Regions from separate parts of the Homo sapiens genome. Here all the other regions are linked to region 1. The links are contacts of gene promoters, found by promoter capture Hi-C in human tissues and cell types (Jung and others, 2019). All regions are on one chromosome and are shown on one strand. The core of a region is centred on a gene start or on the middle of the fragment in contact, and the rest is flanking DNA. Distances in the headings are between cores, read along the strand shown. Region 1 holds the start of BOD1L2 (biorientation of chromosomes in cell division 1 like 2). Region 2 overlaps WDR7 (WD repeat domain 7). Region 3 overlaps ONECUT2 (one cut homeobox 2).

Region 1 (4,845 bases), core at 862-3,361:
GATAGTAATTAATTGTTCATTGATCCCTGCAGGTCAGCTAGAGGTCAGGGAAGTTACTCTAGTGGCCTTATAGTTTGCCAGGCAACCGGGAGCAGTGGTTTGAAGCCTCGGTGAGAGGTGAGAACTGTCCTGTGCCCTAAACCCTGATCCAAGGTGATGGGATAATTATGGTAACTTAATGTTTATGATTACAAATAATACACAAGTCAGCTATTCAGAAAAACCATGCCAGCACACTATTTAAGACTTGGGGAGGATGTGGAGAAAAGGTGTTTGACAGTGAACATTTTTCAGTACAGAATGGAACACTGCAATATGATTGTTATTATCATCACTTTCAAAAGCTTAGGTAAGTGTCCCTCTGTGGGTGAGGCTGTGATTGGAGAACCCCATAGATCTCATCTTGGATCCACATAGGTGATTGCATTCTAAGAGAACTCCTGTGCAATCTGAAGGGCTCATGCACAGTGAGGGGATAAATGAAGACTCAGTTCAGGCTCCAGCACTTCTGCAAAGTCTTCTTCCATCTGCCACGTTCTCCCAGGCTTCAGTGTTCTCCAACACATGACAGGGACACCCTCCTTTCATCTATGCAATCTTTATTCTGCAAATATTAATGGTGCCTCTCTTTTGTTCCAGGCACCATGCTAGGTGTGCATGTTGCATCTAAGTTCCCATGGAGCTTGTGTATGTCCTCAATGGTTTTCTCTGTCAACATCTCCCCTCTCCAACTAGATTGTAAGCTTTTCAAAGGCTGGCCATGTTGCCTGTCTTAAACAACAGCCACAGCAAACATTTATTGAGTGTTAGACTGGGCCAGGCACGTGGAGAGCTCCATAAAGCTTAGCACAGGGCCACATCGACTAGTCCCTCAATAAATATTGATTAATTTAAAAAAATACAGAACTGAATTGTCGAGCTGATCATGGGGATGGTGAGGAGCATAGGTAGGGGGTTGCTGTGGTGAAGTCTTGGTAGGTTCACTGTCTCCTGTGGGATGAGATTCAGAATACGTCCATCTGAGGCATCTGTACTTGTATGTCAGAAGCTATGGGGTGAGGTTATTGACAGAGTCTGTTGTGTAAACTTTCTTTGTGAAATATACTACCTTTAAGCTATGTTACGGCTTATAGAACAATGTGGTGTCTACATCTCAGGGGCATTTTAATTCAGGGAAGTGAGTGTTGGGGTGAAATCAGGGATCTGCTTTTCTTTTGAAATATTGATAGAAGGTTCTTTCTGTGCACCTGCACTTCTCTATTGGATGGCGCTGGATGTGGTTGCCTTTTGTGGCTCTTGGTTGCAATACAGTTCTCTTGTTGAAATGACCTCCTTCTGACTGACACATCTGCCCTAGGCTCATCAATGGCTACCAAAGCCAATGGACACCTTGTGGAACATAGTGTGGCATTTCACCCATGGCCTTCATGAAATGTACCTTTTGCGGTCTATGATCCAAGGCTTTTGTAGTTTTCCCTCCATCTTTTTAGTGTTGTTCTCAGTCCCCCTCATGGGCTCTCCAGGTGTTCCTCTATCTCTTCTAAGTTCTCCATTGTAATTGCCACCTATAGTCTCTACCTTCAGTGAGTTAGATGTCTCTCCCCAGCCCCTAGTCCTTGTATCTTTGGACTTCATAGGCAGATGTCTGCATCTGAATAACCCATACCCATCTTAAACTAGTAAATAAAAATGGAATGCACGATCATGTCTCTGTCTCCCATCCTCACCTCTATACCTGTTCTCCATTTAGTAAATGGCACCTCCATGCACCTGCCCAAGTGAGAAGCCTGGGGGTCATCCTTGACCCTCTCCTTTCCCTCGTCCCTCACCCCGTTGTTCTCCAATCCCTGGGATGAGTCTATCTCCTAAATATCTCTTGTATCCCTGTTACCTTCTTCACCTGCCAGGCCACGAAGATCATTCACTCCTCGCCATCTCCTTCTTAGGGCACTGAAATGGTTGCTGAAATTGTCTCCCTGTTTCGCCCTTGCCCACTGGCATTTGTTTCCCACCTCCCTCTTAGAGATCTTTTAAGAAATGCAGATTACGGTTCCCGCCTCACAATGCAAAGGTCAACGGTGACGCCATCTGGAGCGCGCTTGGAATCCAGCAGGCGGTTGCTGCCGCGTCTTCCACAACCTCCGCGGTCTGGAGCTGGCCTCCCCCACCGCCGCCCCAACCACCGGCCCCGCCGCCATCACCACCACCGTCACCTCCGCCGCTGCCTCCTTGGGGCCCTCCTCCTTCACCGCCCCCTTAGCCACCTCTACACATTCTAGGCTTTCTGTCCTGGAGAAGAAGCTATAATCGGTTTCCTTGTGGGCCCGGTGCGCAGCCATGGCGGACGGTGGCGGCGGCGGCAGCGGCGGTGCGGGCCCGGCCTCGACCCGGGCCAGCGGGGGCGGCGGCCCCATCAACCCGGCCTCGTTGCCCCCTGGCGACCCTCAGCTCATCGCTATCATCGTGGGGCAGCTCAAGAGCAGGGGCCTTTTTGACAGCTTCCGCCGGGACTGCAAGGCTGACGTGGACACCAAGCCAGCTTACCAAAACCTGAGCCAGAAAGCGGATAATTTTGTGTCGACACATCTGGACAAGCAGGAATGGAATCCTCCAGCAAACGACAACCAACTGCACGATGGTCTGAGGCAGAGTGTGGTTCAGTCAGGGAGGTCAGAAGCTGGAGTGGACAGGATTAGTTCTCAGGTGGTGGATCCAAAACTAAACCACATCTTCAGGCCACAAATAGAACAAATAATTCATGAATTCCTGGTGGCCCAGAAAGAAGCAGCTGTGCCAGCACTCCCTCCAGAGCCAGAAGGCCAGGACCCTCCAGCTCCGTCTCAGGACACTTCCTAAGAATATGCCTGACAGCTTTTGAAAGCGCTATTTAATTTTTGGTGAAGAAATGGATTCGGTTACATAAGAGTGCAGTTTCAGATTGAAGATAAGCCAAGTTCATCACTGAGCTCAAGATTTCCACCTCGACCATGAGCAGTGACCAGATTGAAAGGGAAGCAAGTTCGCCAGAGAGAAAGTTGACCGTGGCACCCTCCTGCATTGCGCTGCCATTTGGCCAGCCTTTCCAAGGGCATGACACCAAACACACACTACAGAGAGGGAAACACTACCGCGACCCAGGATTGTCCTGAAACAGACATCTATACTTGAACATGGAGACTGCACATGGATTTTAGGGTTTGTGCTCTGAGATAAACGAAAGCTACAGCGAGAGAACATAACCAATCCCAAAGACAATTTCAAAGAACAATGACAGTAAAGGTTAACTGGGAGGAATATTTGACAGTACTTATTTGATATTGTCTCTCAGAGTTGCAAACTAGATTGTACACAACATTAGTGTCAGATAGCTTTGAAGTTGTGACCTTCTTGTACATGAATCTTCTAGCCAGTTTCCTTTCCTTTGTAAGAGATAACAAAGCATGAAACCCTAGAATGAGTGAGAAGTTCAGACATTAGGTATAAGGAAACTCATTTGCAGACTCTCTGTCCAAGAATGCTTCCTGTCTTGCAGGGGCTAGTGAGTCTTGGGTGTGTTTATGTTATGCTCACATTTGTGTTTTATTTGAAAAGTGGATGGTCAATAAATGGCTTATCTTTCAACTGCAACAACAAAAAAGAAATGCAGATTTACATCCTTTTCCTCTTTAAGCTCCGTCAGTTTTCTGATATTTCTAGAAGGTCAGACACCTGGCATGGTTTATGAGGCCCGTGATAATGGGGCCCCTGGTCACCTCTGCTGCCCCGTACACTGTCATTTCTCATATGACAACCATGCCCATGACTATCCTGGACACCCTGTGTTCCCTCTGCTCACTGTGAAGGGAATGCCCTCAACCACTCCTACCCTCCTTTAAGACTCAGCTCCTGAGGAGCCACACATCGTCTAAGCAGGAGTGACAGACTCCTTCCTCTGTGCTCCCATAGATCTCATAAGGGATGACCACACTTACTATAGTAGCTAGGTCTGACGAAGCACTTGCTCTATTGCTCTACAGCTGGCAGTGTACTAAACGCTTAACTTCGCTTACCGTAGTAAGTCCTCATGATCTAATTGAAGAAATCGTATCTTTATTCCCATTTTTATTCCCATTTATAAATGTAGAAACCAAAGCTCAGACACTGCCTAAGTGGTGGGGCTGGGGCTGAGCCTGTATTGAGCACAGAGCCCTCACTTTTAACCCTTTTAACCATGCTTTTAGCCACACCACCTCACCACAGTGAACTGTCTTTGCTTACAGATCTGTCATCCCCACTTAAATGTGAGCTTCCTCCAGGGCAGGGATTTGCTTTGTTCATTTCTTTTCCTTAACCCCAGGACCTAGCACATCACAGGAGCTCAGCAATTTGTAGAAAGAAACCAGTTCTGGATTTGTCTTTTCCAACATTTAATTTCTCAGATGGCAGTATTTATCATCTAAAAAGTGAACAAAAATTAATTTTGCATCTAGTGTCTACATGTCTAAGCAAGAAAGAGCTTTCTTATCCCTGGAGGTATTTTATCTGTAATGTTTACCTATGAGCTATTTTAAATGATTCTTCAAAATTTAGAGTCCAGAAGGTAGAAGACCATGTCCTTTCTGAAAATGTCCCTTCCTTTCCCAGGTACCAGGCTCTTTTTAAAATTAGCTTCTGAATATGAACAACCCAGCTCTTTAAAGTTTAATGTCCCAGCCATTTTAATTGTTTCTTTCGAAGTACAAAAGAGCAGCTGGGCCACATCGGCACTAATCACTTGCCAACTTTCCTTTTTACAAAAACAGCTAAGCTCTTTCTGAGATTTAAAATCACTCCATCTGAGACCCCAGCTTGGCACCTATCTTTGCA
Region 2 (4,845 bases), core at 1,027-3,526, 360 kb before region 1:
TTTACAAAGAGAAAATTGGGAAGGATTTTGATGGATAAATCTTTCAAAAGAGTATAATTTGAAAGGATTAGAAAAATTGTTGAAATTTTTTGAATATTCTTTTGCAAAATAAAAGCTTTATAATTATGTTGCTACATTGAATGTGCATTGGAAAAGAGTTGTATTTTGCTATCATAATGAGCATACTCATTCCCAGTTCATCATTTGGTTGGTTTTGTATTTTTGTTTGGTTTGTTTTATATTTTTCTAAAAACAGTTTAGTTACTAAATAATTTTTTTAAGGTCCCTCAGTTACTAAGTGACTAAATTATAATCAATATAATTGAGTCAAATAAAATTTTAATTTTGCTCTTAATTATATTGATTAAAAAATTTTACCCTAAATTATATTGAATTAAAATTAAAATTTTACCCTAAATTATATTCATTGTAAGATAAATTTTCAGTTTTGCAAGATAAAGTGTGAGTGAAACTTTAAAAAAAACTTTTTATTATGAAAATTTGGCCTGGGTTTTAGGTGGACTCATTTTAAATGACCTTTTGCCAATACCAGTTATTCTTTGTAATGAAATACTCATTACACATGTCAAGATGGACAGTACATTATTATACAAGAAGGAAAATGAAAACAAAATTCAGAAAGGTTTATAACTTTTATATCTGGTTTAAACTCTACCAGATCTTTGCCAGTGGTGACTCTAGTGGATGTTTAATCAAGCATGTGACCTTGGGCACTTTTCTTAAGCTTTCTTAGTCTCAGTTTTATCGCAGATGAAATAAAGATGATAATAGGACTTTATAGGGTTATTATGTGTGTGGCATGAGTTAATCTTTGTTAAGTGCGTAGAACAATTCCTAGCCCATAGTAAGCATAATACTTTTGTTAAATACTTTATAATCTATAAAAATGCAAATATTTATTTCACTTATAGCCGAAGTATCACACATTAACAGCTCCAGTGAAAATTCTTAATTGTTTGAGCAATAAAATATTTACTTAGTGAATATAGGTTATCATTTGCTTTCTGGAAATTTTTCTATTTTAATAAAGCAAATTAAGTTAAAAAAAAAAACAAGGCATCTAGACATATAGACTCTAAGTTATTAGGCTTAAGATTGTTTTAAAAATATGTGCAGATTTTCAAATTTCCAGAATATAAAAAAGAGTTTCAAAAAAATAAAATTGGGATGAAAAGAACTTTGTCTTTGAGTAGATGAGAAGGTAGTCCGGAAAAAGTGTTCTTTGTTCATAATTTGTGGGCATTAACTTTATAATATTCCAGAAAATATAGTTAGATGATCATCTCATCATAAGCTTTATTGAATATAAGATCCCCAAAATTAAGGACAAACTATGACTATAGTATTTACAGAGTTGTTTGAAGGTGAAAATAGGCAATGGCAAATCACTAAAGAATTTTTTTAAAAATAAGAATGCTATTATGGAAATATTGAGACATTGGTGCTTTTAAGACATCTTTATTCCAAATGGACTCGTGTGAAGTAGGGAAATTGATTAAAGTAGAATAACTAGCTGGCAGGCTATTGCAGAAGGGAGGTTATGGGAACCAGACCTAAATGTAGATAGGGTAGAATAAAAGATAATTTCTAAGACTTGATTATTGATTGCTTATAAAGGTCTAAGAAAAACACCAAAGATTAGTACAGGGTTGTATTCTTGACAGAGAAAAACGTTGGGAAAAAGAGATGCCATTAGCAATTGTAGTGGATGCCTTTTTATTTTATTCCTGGGAAGAAGAGAATAAGTTAGCTACAAGGTAAAGGCAAAATATAGCCACAAATTACTCCCTGAAGCAGTGCCAGAACTGTGTATGTTGTTTGGAGAGAGGTGTGTTAGCAGGCCCAGAGAGAATAAAATATAAGTAAAATAGTAATACCTACCATTAATTGGACACTTTGTCTGCGTCAGGCTTTGCTAAGTATCTGGTCTACGTTATTTCATTTAACCATTACAATAACCTTGTAAAGTACCCACTATTGCCATCACGGCCTGCCTCTGCCCCCAGCCTTTTGTTTTCTTTCAGAGGAGTAAATGGGAGGCCAGGAGAGATTAAAGAATTTTCTGAAGGTCCCTCAGTTACTAAGTGACAGACTCCAAAACTTATTCTTGTAACCACTATTTATTCCTTTTTTTAAAAAATTATTTTTTATTTCAATAGCTTTTGGTGTATAAATGGTTTTTGGTTACATAGATGGAGTGTAAGGTGGTAAAGTGTGAGATTTTAGTGCAGCCTTCACCTGGAGGGTAAAGGTGCACATTGCTGTACATTATACCCAATACGTAGCTTTTTTTATCCCTCACCCTTCCTCCACCCTTCCCCTTCTGAGTCTCCATAATCCATTATATCACTCTGTGTGACTTTGCATACTCAGAATTTAGCTCCCACTTATAAGTGAGAACGTATATTAATCACTATTTATTCCATCTTGCTTGCTCTGGCATCCTTGGATCTTAAATGGGGATGAAGATGGAAGAATGAGTAGATACTTAGCTTAACTAATATTGCTTTCAGACACTGTTCTTTGCAGCCGTGTTACAGTTAACGACAACAAAATGGAGTCACAAAAATTGTAAGAAAATGACTCTTTGATGGGTCTGGTCACTGTTTAAGTATAAAGTAGGCTGTTCTTATGTCATATTTAAACCTTTCTGTTTATGTATTATGTTTATGTTGTATATTTAAGTTTTGTATTTATGTAAGTCTTTTGTATTTGATTATAGTATCCCAGAGTACTTCATATATTAGCTAAATGCTGGCTTACTTAAAACTTTGATCTTGTCATTTATTGTTGTTGTTTTTTTTTTTGTGAAAGACAAACATGCATTCTACATGTAACTGAAACATGCACTGACAACTCTTGATATAATACATTAATCTTTTCTGGAACTTCTACATTGACTGAGTGTTAAACTCGTTTTAGTTTGCTTTACTGTGAGCTTTCTATTTTAATAAAAGGGTGTCAGGCTAAGGGAGTAGGGATTCTGAACGTATGAAAGGAGAAGAAAGCTTACAACAAATGAGGAATGACCACATAGGGCTGTTGAACAGATTTGCTGTCCGAAGGGATCAAAAGGTTATGGAGCCAGCTGGTAGACAGCCCACACCTGCCATCAACGTGCTTGTACTGAAATCGCCTCTACCATTGTCATTAATGTTTGAGATGATCATTGTGGCAAGTTACATCGTAAAGTATTGCTTTAGAAATGCAAAACCTGTTTCTAGCATAAGAATCTTCTTTGAAAATGGGCAAAATATTAAACAATATATCTGACAAATATACCACCCATCAGATATTTTCTTATAATTTAATAATTCTAGGCACTTTACAAAATGCAATAATTCCCTAAGCAATCTTGGCAGCTCCTAACTTAAAATTGAGCTTTGTCTAAGAGTCCTTTTCTTACATATTTGTCTGAAAATCAGAAAACGCTCTTACCTGAAGAGCAGAATGGCATACTGGGCTGATGGACTGTGATAGCTCTTCATCTTAGAGATGAAGTTTAATGTGGGTGGTAACTATCTCTACTTCACAGTCCGTAAGTGATTGGGCTGGGACTAAGATGATAAAGCATCTGGTCTTACTGACTGGGATCTTCTATATTTTATTTAGGTACATTATGCAATAAAAAGCCGTTTGCAGGTTAGTTTGAGAATGTAAGGAAAACAATGAGCCAGTTGCTTTTCTCAGGATTCTTTTTTTCTTTTTCTTTTTTTTTTTTTTTTAAAGAGACAGGGTCTCGCTGTGTTGTCCTGGCTGGACTTGAACTCCTAGGCTCAAGGGATCTTCCCGCCTCAGCCTCCTGAGTAGCTGGAACTAAAGGTGCACACCACCATGCCTGGCTCTCAGGACAGGAGAGCATGAAAAGAGAAACTCTTTGTAACGCTTTTAATGTAAAGTGCATAATACAAGTACAGAACGTTGGCTGGCTGTACCTTTCCTTTTCTATGTTGGTTTCTATAGTTTTGTTCTCTTTATTGCCACTGCCTCAGAATTCACTTTAATTTATATTGCCCAGGGATTCTGGCAGATCACTGCCAGACTGGAGATCACTGGGGAAGAAAAAGGAGCAATAGTCTGTCTTAACTGAAAAGCCAGCTCACAGATTGTTATAAGAATAAAGTCCTTACCGGGCGCAGTGGCTCACGCCTGTAATCCTAGCACTTTGGGAGGCCGAAGCGGGCGGATTGCCTGAGCTCAGGAGTTCAAGACCAGCCTGGGCAACAGGGTGAAAAACAGTCTCTACTAAATACAAAATTTAGCCGGGCATGGCTGCGTGCACCTGTAGTCCCAGCTACTCGGGAGGCTTAGGCAGGAGAATTGCTTGAACCCGGGAGGCAGAAGTTGCAGTGAGCCAAGATCGCGCCACTGCACTCCAGCCTGGGTGACAGGAGCGAGACTCTATCTCCAAAAAAAAAAACAAAACAAAGAAACAAAAAAGAGTCAAGCCCTAATTGAGTACTGTGAGAATTTTGTTTCAGATAATGGTGCTCTGTTCTTGAACCAGTCAGGAAATACTATTTTATCCTTTAAAAATATCGTGAGTATGTAAACTTTTGCTGCTTAATTTCTGATAGATAAATTGAGGATAAGTGCATTGTGATTCCTATACTAATGGTAATGGACTTAAATAATATGGCATACGTTCTTGTAATACTGACTTATAGAAATATAATAATTCTTGTCTGAGCCCTCAGTCTTTAGCATGTTTGTTGCTTTTATGTTCCAAAAACACTTTTTAAAAATTTTATTGGTTATTGTTACTATTAGGTTGGTGCAAAAGTAAATAGTTTTTGCCATTAAAAGTAGTGGCAAAAACCACAA
Region 3 (4,845 bases), core at 1,035-3,534, 340 kb after region 1:
AGTGCCTTGCTTGAACCAAAGCAACGATTTAGCCAGTCTGGACCTCTCTGTGCTTTTTTTAATTCTTCCTGTGAATACCTCAGCTTCAACTGGGCCTCCATACAGTCAGTTGGTGGGCTTATTGTACTGTGGTGCTTTGCAATGCAACCCTGCAAAGAACAAGATTTGTACTAATACCAAAGGTTCTTTCTCTATGTCTCCTCCTCTGCCTCCCTCGTTCTTCCCTTTTTTCTAGTTCTTCACGGTTCCAAAGCTTTACTATGAACCTGGGCATGTTGGCAATGCAGACCGCGCAATTCCTTACCGAATTTTCTCAGATATACCTCATAGACAATAGTGTTTAGAGTAATGTTATTATAGCGTATGTAATAAATTATTCACTGTTTCTTTTGGTAACTGTGATTTAAAAAAAGAAAAAAGAAAAAAAAGCTTTATACGTTTTAGGTTGTGCTTTTGTAATAGATGAAAAAAGGTGCGCTTAAAAAGAAAATGTATGTTTTTTTCCCCCTTTGGATTTTATTTATGCTGGATTGGGGAAAGTTGCAGAATGAGCCCAAAGTTTACAGTTTCATATTTTGCTGAAGAAACAATCTGTGTTCATTTGCTCTGTTGAAAAGAATAATTATTTTCTACATTTGTGCCACTTGGTCTGAACAATTAATTGTTCCGTGTTAACAGTGTAGTATTATGATTAGCAACTGCCAATCAGTGCTATAATTTTATGCATGAGGCTAAAAATTTAGCAGTGTGATGCATTGTGGTCTTAATAGCAACATTTTTCATTTTGAACTAGATCTTCCCCTTTGGTTCAATGGACTTTATTTATGCATGGGCGCCTATTGTTTGTTAGCAGTTGTGGAACAGTTGTGTATACATTAAACTGTGAAAATGTACACAGTTCAGCCTCAGACGGTGGTAATATTGGTTTTATTGGGAGATGTGTCACCTCGAAAATACCCTTTACATCTGTTGGGATCTGAAAATGAGTCACATTGAATTGGGTTCCAGCTTTATAATGAGAAACGTTATTCCTAATTTTTGAGTTAGCCAATTTGCATTCCACAAATTGGGATCCTCATAACCCAAATATATCACCGTATGTGAGAGGGATTTGAAAGCGAGTATTGAAAAACTCACCTTTGCATATTTAATTTCCACCAAAAGGAGTTATTTTGGCTTTATGCTCATGAACTTAGACCTAACTGGCCATGTATATGTAGATGCAAATTCATCTAGCTGTGGCCCTCTTTGATCTCTGCTTGGGAATGGCTATTTTTGACTATGCGTGGTTTCTTCTCGTATTTTGTGATCAGGTCAGCTCCCAGTAGAAACTCAAATGGCATCAATATTACTAACTCTTCTCTGCCCACTTCTCTTTTGTCCACTCTCCTAGACATTCCCACCAACTGTTCCAGTGATTTGGGCAAAAATACGCAGCCATTTCCCAAAACTTCACATGTGCAGCTATCATGGCTGTCCCTCCCTAGACTTGGAGGTGACTCTCACTTAATTTTTACCTGCCCAACAATGTTCCATCTACCATCTAAAAGGTAATATAAGAAGAAGTTTTGAAACCCACTTTAGGAAAACCATCTTCTTTAAATCCTTCAATTATCTGAGGCCTCTATATGTCAAAACTATTTTTCAGTTGCAGGGGATTGGGCAAACTTGTTCTTTCTTATACTTGGGTTCAAAGACCCATTCTCCAGTTTCATATTTCCCAAACCAAAATGCTTGACATAAAGCCAAATCAACTGCCAAGCACACTTTATTTTGCATAGGAGTATGCAGCCTAGGGAACCTTGGTTGAAAAGCAGCAGTCTGCTATGCAAAATATTGGAAATCACTGACAGTGTAGCATTCATATTATCTGTCAATGAGGGTATATTGGGAACGTGCTCTCGTGAATAATAAAAAGCAACATATTTTTATTTGGCCTTATAAATTAGGTTGTGGTAATGTAAACTTTGATATATAGTCTTTTTATTTTTCTCTTATTAATCTGCCAAAGATGGGAACAGATACAAGAATTTTTCAAATTGGCTTTTGTAAGACAATTGATGATTGTAATAGTGTTTAATCTTCCAGAAAGCTTTATATGTTGTTCCACAATAAAATTGATATTTGTTTCAGCAAAGTTTTCCTGACACTCACAAACCCACAAACTGTTCCTCTTAATGCAGATATTGTAGAATCTACAAAGTTCAAATCCATTTTTGATCCAAAGAAAGTAGAGGAGTATTTGAGACATGAGTGTACCCAGCCCTTTTTTTAATCACAGGCAATGCATGGGTCTGGCTGGTTACACTTTGCCAAGAAGACTTGTCTTATGAAACCCAAGGTATATTTTGTTATGCCATTTTATGTCCTTTTCTTTTAACATTGTGGAAAGTGGTATGTTGAATCAAGTGTAAGCTGAGTTTTCCAGACAACTGAAGTAGCTACATCATGAATGTTATTTTGTTATTAAAGGGTTTTTACTCAGTGCTTTGTGCCAATGGATGTCCTTTTCCTTGGAGACACATAACTACAAAATTACCTCAGCTTGGCCTGGTTTTCTCTCCTGCCCTCTTGGGGAAACATGGGCCTGGCCTGGGAAAAGGCAGGTCATGGGCTGGAAGGTAGGTTTTGGTACTAGGAAGAAATCTCTGTATCTGTCAGCTTTAAAGAGAACTGGGCCAAAAATCTCTAACCTCACTCTCTCTGGACTCCAACACTTCCCTGCAATCCTTTGGTCTTGAGCATGTGCCAGCATGAAGGCAGACTCCAGTTCATACATGAAAGGCAAGAAAAAGAAAATAGTAACCTTGAATCTTCTGTGGGCCACCAGGCACTCACCTTTCCCCACCTTGCACACTATCCAGTCAAGGCTATTGCAGCCCATCTGGTGGCTTTACATGGGACATTACCAAAGGCTTCTTCCTCCATCCTGGGGTTGCAAAGGATCCAGGTCCCCTCCATCCAGTGGGGCTCTTCCACATCAGAAGTCCCCCTCCCACCATCCTCTGCATCCTGTTTAGCTATCCCATCTATACCTTTTGGAGATGATTATTTAGAAAACAAAGAAAGGTATGGAATGGGGTTTCCTATTGTTTGCTAGGTTATATTTTAGCAATTCTCAATTCTTTGATCTGGAAAAATACAAGAGGGAAAAGGAGACCCCACTATCTCCCTGTGCTTTGCTCCCATCTCAGGGGGCAGGGGCAGTGCACATTGCCTATGCTGTTGATCTGTCTTGGGCGACAGGCTGAATCACAGCTATTGCCCCAGCCAAAAACATGGCCCATCAATGCCTACTTTATCTCTGCTTGAAAATCCTATTCAAAAAGTTGTAGAGTTTGAGGTTTTTATCCCCCCATATCCTTTGCTTTGGTCCAGTTTGGCCTTTAGCATAAGAGTCAGCTTTATCTCTAGGAAAGTTTTTTCAGATTATGACAAGGAACCTGCCACCTGGGAAGAAAAGAGTCCGAAGACTAGCAATCGGATAGGTAGTCATACCATTAACAGATACTTCCTTGAAGGTAGAATATTATTTCCTTTCTTTACAGTTTTGTGTTACACAAGTCCAAGTGGTGCCAGCAAACTTCTTACCGTGAAATGTTGTAAAACACCTGGCATACTGAAATTTCTGAAACAAAAACACAAGCTCCACATTGATAACTTGATAAATAACCACTAAAGTTTAGATGCAGGGACTGAGATGATACAGGCAAAATCTTGGTGTTGGTTTCTCTTTTAATTCGTATCTTCGATCACCTAACCTTTCTCAATCCAAGAGCAGTTCAGTCTTTTCTCCCCAAGTCTAGGATGCCAAAGAGCATCATAGGAAAAGATAATTAGGGATTGACCAGCATTTCAATTAGTTCTCTTCTTCATCTTTGCATTTCTCAAAAGTGTTCTCCTGGACCAGAGGGAAAGAGCTGGTCCATTTTTTTTCATTCTTTCTATTCAAATTTTTCCACCCAGACAATACTTTATTAACACAGATACTGTAGATCCTTCCTTGGTCAGTGAATTATTACAAGAGGAGCTATCCTTCCACCAAAGTGAGTGAAAACAAGTTCCAGTATCTTTTCTTCCATCCAGTTTTGTTCTCAGAATCCAAGTCAGTCCTGGGTCTTTTCTCACTTTAGACCCTGGCCTCAGATGTGTTTATTCTTGCTATTTAAAAATACCTTTAAATTTCACATGCTGGCCTGCAGAACTTGCATCCTTTGTTCTATACTGTTGACTGCTTGATGGTATTGAAAGGTGACTATAATGAGGGAAGAAAGGAGGAGGTAAAGAGAGAAGAATTTGTCCCAGATCTGTTTAAAGTTTCAAAATTTAAAAAGGGACCCATTAAATTATGGGAAAATGGCTATAGAGTGTGAGCCTCCGTTGACCATATGCTCAAAGACCGTACTCTGCCACCTGCCTTCCAGGTAGCTATTCTAGAAACTCAGTCCTTTGTGGAAACCCAACTACCTTTTAAAAGTCTCTTTCCAGATTCCAAAAGGACAAGAGATCAGAGAGTCACATATACGCCTCTTGTTTTATTTTCTTGCTTTCACGGGTATTATTGCCAAGAAAATCGTAGGGAAAAACTTTAAACTTTTCTTTTCAGTTGATCCCTTTGACATCACCTCTCATGTTTAAAATCAGGAAAACACACCCCTAAAATTTGCACTCTCTTCCGTTTTGAAAAAGAAAACCCACACACAAATGCACACTATTACCGTCTTTCACCCTGCGCTATATTTCCAAAGTGTATTATAATCCAGATATTGCCCCATCTCAAACATGTTAAGTCAGACTGTGCTGAAAGACTTTCCAGGGACGGTCAACAGGGTATATGTTCAGTGG

What was found. Contacts are between HindIII fragments. The study calls those that stand out against the background at their distance.
Region 2: a fragment that was not itself captured here is called in contact with the fragment with the promoter of BOD1L2 in region 1 in 4 of the 25 tissues and cell types used here (IMR-90 fibroblasts, hippocampus, mesenchymal stem cells and 1 more).
Region 3: a contact is called between a fragment that was not itself captured here and the fragment with the promoter of BOD1L2 in region 1, in 1 of the 25 tissues and cell types used here (liver).

The regions. Positions count from the first base shown.
Region 1 is chr18:57,144,976-57,149,820 of GRCh38, forward strand. It overlaps BOD1L2 (biorientation of chromosomes in cell division 1 like 2), which reads left to right and starts at 2,112. Exons shown (of 1, transcript NM_001257964.2): 1 at 2,112-4,845. The coding sequence starts at 2,338. The coding sequence ends at 2,856. RefSeq lists an enhancer at 2,281-2,876. The HindIII fragment of the contact is 20,182 bases long and covers 544-4,845 here.
Region 2 is chr18:56,782,101-56,786,945 of GRCh38, forward strand. All of the region lies in intron 19 of WDR7 (WD repeat domain 7), which reads left to right. Among named protein-coding and RNA genes, the nearest start is that of WDR7, 130 kb to the left of the region's middle. The HindIII fragment of the contact is 4,854 bases long and covers 1-4,703 here.
Region 3 is chr18:57,486,201-57,491,045 of GRCh38, forward strand. It overlaps ONECUT2 (one cut homeobox 2), which reads left to right. Exons shown (of 2, transcript NM_004852.3): 2 at 1-4,845. Among named protein-coding and RNA genes, the nearest start is that of ONECUT2, 53 kb to the left of the region's middle. The HindIII fragment of the contact is 3,886 bases long and covers 342-4,227 here.